Regions from separate parts of the Homo sapiens genome. Here region 1 is linked to region 2. The links are contacts of gene promoters, found by promoter capture Hi-C in blood cells and fetal thymus (Javierre and others, 2016). All regions are on one chromosome and are shown on one strand. Each heading gives the region's core, a stretch centred on a gene start or on the middle of the fragment in contact. The rest is flanking DNA. Distances are from core to core; before and after follow the strand shown.

The links. The method cuts DNA at HindIII sites, captures the fragments that hold promoters and counts their contacts. A CHiCAGO score of 5 or more calls a contact.
Region 1: a contact is called between a fragment that was not itself captured here and the fragment with the promoter of CELF6 in region 2, in 1 of 17 cell types (endothelial precursors). The highest score is 5.9, in endothelial precursors.

What each region holds. Positions count from the first base shown.
Region 1 is chr15:73,080,232-73,082,960 of GRCh38, reverse strand. All of the region lies in intron 1 of NEO1 (neogenin 1), which reads right to left. Among named protein-coding and RNA genes, the nearest start is that of NEO1, 29 kb to the right of the region's middle. The HindIII fragment of the contact is 2,772 bases long and covers 78-2,729 here.
Region 2 is chr15:72,318,783-72,321,482 of GRCh38, reverse strand. CELF6 (CUGBP Elav-like family member 6) reads left to right here and starts at 1,326. Exons shown (of 13, transcript NM_052840.5): 1 at 1,326-1,870. The coding sequence starts at 1,609. RefSeq lists silencers at 1,190-1,239, 1,300-1,639. The HindIII fragment of the contact is 9,541 bases long and covers 1-2,700 here.

The DNA.
Region 1 (2,729 bases), core at 214-2,713, 760 kb before region 2:
AGGGATACAGACACACATTTTAGCCAGGGTCTGTATCTGTCAGATCTCAGCTGAAACGTCACTTCCTTAGGGAAGCTTTCTCTGATACACTAGCCAGGGTGAACTCTCCCTATTATGCACTTCTCCTTTATGGCCCTTAACATTATGTTAGATTACAGATTCTAGCTAGATTATAAACTCCAGGAGGACAAGAGACATTTTTATTTTCACTATTTTATCATGTATACCTAACACAGTGCCCATATATAAAATACTGATATGTATTAATAATTCATTTGAGGGTGATAAAACTGTTAGTCTATTTGCTAAAAGTAGTTTTAATATGCCTGCTAATATTTTTAAGTGAATAAACAAAATGCTTTCTTTCCAAAAAAAAAAATCCTTTGTTCTGTGAACTTCATCTTACTGTTTTTTCTTTGTTCTGTGAACTTCATATTACTGTTTTTTCTGTGAATCAATGACTATCCACATTGAAATTTTAGAAAAATTAACAGCAATCTTCTCTTCTCAAAAGCTCATCTTCAAATTTAAGGAGAGTACATTCTCAATGTGTGCAGAATTTATTTCAGCTCAGTAATTCTACAAATGTCATCTTATATTACGATGCGGTAGACAGAAACACATCAGTCAAAATTTACCTACTCTATCGCATTTAAGTAACATTTTCTCAGTGAAAAAAACTTAGGGGAGGAAAATGTTACATATCTAAAGAGCTTAAGTAGACTCGACTCTAAATATTATGGCCACAAAGGCAAGAATCCATTATTAAATTCTTATCAAGTATTTAGGCTGGGCGTGGCGGCTCATGCCTGTAATCCCAGCACTCTGGGAGGCCGAGTTGGGCAGATCACCTGAGGTCAGGAGCTCGAGACCAGTCCGGCCAATGTGGCAAAACCCCATCTCTACTAAAAATACAATAATTAGCTGGATGCAGTGGTGCATGCCTGTAGTCCCAGCTACTCGGGAGGCTGAGGCAGGAGAATCACTTGGGCCCGGAGCAGGGAGTGCGGAGGTTGCAGTGAGCCAAAATTGGGCTACTGCACTCAAGCCTGGGTGACAGAGCAAGACTCCATCTCAAAAAAAAAAAAAAAAATACTAGTATTTGGCTGGGTGTGGTGGCTCATACCTGTAATGCCAGCACTTTGGGAGGCTGAGACAGGAGCTCAAGACCAGCCTGGGCAACATAGTGAGACCCTATCTCTACAAAAACTTTAAAAATTAGCCAGGTGTGGTGGCATGCACCTATGGTCCCAGCTACTCTGGGGGCTAAGGTGGGAAGATTGCTTGAGTCCAGGAGGTCGAGGCTACAGTGAGCTGTGATGGTGCTACTGCACTCCAGTCTGGGTGACAGTGAGTCCTTGTCTCAGAAAAAAAAAAACAAAACACTTAGTACTTGCTGTAATATTTCACCACCAGGTGGCAGATCCATACTACGTTCTGGAAATGTTTTTATCAACCCTGATAAGTTAGTCCAATTAGAAGGAATTTTAGGAAAAGTAAAATAATTTTAACTGTATTTGAACCTGAGCCAGTTAACCACAGGGTAGTTACAATTGGCCCTCAGAACATTATACTTCTATTTAACTGTAAATTTGTCCCCAGGCCATGCAGAGTACCTAATTTTCTTTAAAGAGAACAGAATATTAAAATGCAGTTTTAAAATGTGATTATCTATAGTCCAGTCATTCAAAATCCTGAGAAGTCTAAGAGGAGTTTGAATCCCAAAGTAAAGGGAACATGAAATGAAAAGGTAGAAAAAAATACAGGTGAGACAATGAGAAAAAGGGGAGAGAGATGAAACATCTACCAAACCAAGAAGCTAGCAAAACCCAAGTTACAGCAACGCCCTTCAAAAATGAACATGTCTGTGTTTTATGTGTTCAGCAATATATTCTAATTAATAAGATAAAGACTTTAATCTCAAGTCAATCAGTTAATTATGAAATTGACTTTTCAAATTTTTCAATAATTCTAAAATTCTTAAAATGTATTATTATCAAGATGAAATATATTATCTTGAAATGACTCTTCAGTTATTTTAAAATGCTATTGAAAACGCTATTTGCAAATGCATCCTTGAAATCTAAGGAGAACACCTTAATTTGTTTACCACCTTGGCTGCAGCACACCTTTCCCTCCACTGTCCTTCTTCCAGTCCTACCCAACTTCTCCCGCCTCTTTCTGGCCCATGTTTGCAGGGAGAAGAGATGACCCCTGACACTCAGAAAGAGATCCCTGGCCACTATACACACCAGTCAATGGTTCAACTTCCTCACTAATGCTTCCTTCCTCATGTCCTTTAATCCACTAACCAAATCTACCTCGGCCACAATTAGAAATCAACACCCAACCTCTACCATGAACCAAGGCTGACCTGAGTTTTGTGAAATTTGAAGCATATATAATTTGAGGGCCTTTTTGAAGAAAAAAAAAAATGGAAAAAAATTTTTCAATTTTGCAAATGTTACAAAAATATGTAACTAACAAACACACTACACTGCTAGAGCCTCTCCCAGATCCTAGAAGAGGTCTATGCAAGTGAGGGGATCCAGGGCTCACCAACTTAAGGGTAAATTGTCTCTGCCATGAAGACATGTTGAGGAAAAAACAAGCCTATAAACTCTGTTTGTTAAATAAAACAACTAGTACACCAATTCCATTCAATAAAAGAAAGGCACTGGCTAGAGAGTTACAGTGTTCACAGTTACTTTAGAACAAACTGGCTAAAA
Region 2 (2,700 bases), core at 77-2,576:
AAAAAAGAAAAAAAATTATCCAGGCATGGTAGCGTGCACCTGTCATCCCAGCTACTTGGGAGGCTTAGGTGGGAGGATCGCTTGAACCCAGGAGGTTGAGGCTGCAGTGATCTTAGATCGCACCACTGCACTACAGCCTGGGTGACAGAATGATAACCTATCAAAAAAAAAAAAAGGAAATCTCTATTAAAATAATTAGCAATTTTACTGAAAGAGGCATGAAAAATATATTATGGAATAAATATATAATTTATGAAGTATGTGTCTTTGTCCAAACATTGTATTACTACTTTGTGCAAACATCACTGATCCATCAAGAGAATACCTAGACATGTGCAGGAGTAATAAAATTCCATCAGCTCTGATATTTTGCCAACTTTCAGTCATATAGAAAGCGTAGCTGTACATATGTCTTTCATTTTCGTAATTCTGAACCTGTATTTGTGAAAATAAGAGGGGAACATATTTAACAAATTGTAATTTGATTTGTATCTTTTAAATGTTTAGATGCACAGTATGTCGATTTCCATTTCTTATTTTGCGCTGGGCCCAACAAATGTTGGGGTGGGCCTGGCCCTAACATCCTCGACCCTCAGAACCTCAGCTTCCTTTTCCGGAAAAAGAGAACACTCCTGAGTTCACAGAACTGGGATGAACTGGGCACCTGGTGCATAATGGGTTCTGAGTAAATACGGCTAAGTTCCCTCACTCTCCTAAGGAGGAATCCGTGTTCAAGGAGTGTTTAAGGGGTTTTTATTTTATTCTTCCTTTCTTTTTAAGGCTGCAAGGGAGACGAATGTGTCTGAGGCTCAGGGGTAAGAAAGTGGTTAAAGACACCGAAGACAGAGATGTGTGATGGGGCGGGGTGGGATTGGCTCCGAGGGACTGGCTCGATAGTGGGAATAGAGAAGAGGAATCCCCATCCACCCCCGCAGGAAACGCACCAGCGTTTGGAGGTGTGTGTGCCTGCGTGTGCCTGCGTTTGCCTGTGTGTGCCTGTGTGTGCGGTGGGGATTAGCCCCGACTCCGGCAGACACCATCACGCATGACGAAGCTGCTTCCCCTCACGCGGCCCAAGGCGCACACGCGCGATCCACGGCCACGCCCGCACACACTCGACACACACAGGGCATTCGAGGGTCCGGTTGCCATGGCGAGCAGGAGCGCGTGAGCCCAGCCGCCCCCCCCGCCCCCGGCGAGCCCAGTCAACTCCCACTCTGATTGGCGGCTGCTTCCTCATTATGCAAATCATTTGCGTAGACTCGGCGGCCAGCTGCCTGACGTCACCAAGCACGGGGGCTGGGGCTCGGGGCTCGGCTCTGGGAGAGCTCGGGCGGGAGCCCAGAGAGAGCCGCACGGGGACCTCAAGCCAGACCCCAGCGTTCAGCCGCCACCTCGGCCCGGGCCCGCCCCGCCCCGGCCCCGCCCCTTTCCTGCCCGCCCCACCCCCTCTACGCCCCTCCACCCGGACCCCGCCCCCTGGGCAGCCCCCCGCCCTCTCCGCCCGGGCTCCGCCCCCTCCCCCTGGCCCTCGCCACCGGTCCAGGGAGGGGACGGCGGGACAGGCGGGACCAGTGGGACCGGCGGGAGGGCTGACAGGGCGGGGACATGGCCGCGGCGCCGGGAGGGTCAGCGCAGCCCGCTGGCCCCGGCCCGCGCCTGGGTTTCAGCACCGCGGACAGCGGCGTCGGCATGAGCGGGCTAAACCCCGGTCCCGCCGTACCCATGAAGGACCACGACGCCATCAAGCTCTTCGTGGGGCAGATCCCGCGGGGCTTGGACGAGCAGGACCTCAAGCCGCTGTTCGAGGAGTTCGGCCGCATCTACGAGCTGACGGTGCTGAAGGACCGGCTCACCGGCCTCCACAAAGGTGCGCGGGGTCAGCCCAGCCCAGCCCAGCCCCAATCCGATTAGAGTGTGGCCCGACCCCAGCCCAGCCCCAGCCCTAGCCCTGCCGAGAGCCAGTCCAACACCAGTCCAATATCAGCCCCACCTCAGCCCAGCCCCCTTCCCAGATCACAGAATTTTCTCTCTGACATCCTCCCTCTGATTATCACTGTGGTCCCCTAACATGTTCTCCACTCTAACCTCCAAATTCCTGGCCTCCACCTCTCACATCCCAGCAGTCCCTGCCTTTCAATTGGACCTTTCCACCACCTCTCCCATCAGACCTAAAATTCTGGAATTTGAAAACTTATTCCACCTTCTAGATCTCGAATACCCTCAATTTCCCAAACCCTGAGCCCAAACACTCCTGAATCCTCCATCTGGTGGCACCTCACTCAGGCCTAACCACCCACATGCATATCTTGGACTTGCACCCCTCCTCTGGCCTCCTAGTCCGGCCATCCCCCTCAAGAGCCTTCTTTTGACTCTCAGACTGCCAACCTAAAACACCGCAGACCCAAACCCTCCCCTTCTTCAGAACCCAGACCTGTCTAACACAAAATCCAATTCAATTCCCAGGAGGCTCTCAGTTCCAGACACCCCCTCATGTTCAACAACAGCCCCAATCTCTCCTGCCCTTCGCCAGAATCCCAATGCACTCTACCTCTTTTGATTTCAGTTCAGAACCCTGACCTCAGCTGGGAACTCCTGCCACCCTGTGTCCCTTTCTTCTTGGATTTCTCTCAGCTAAATCCACACTTCTTTCCTTCTCTAATCCCCTCACTCCTGTGCCTCTTCTTTGCTCCTCCCCAG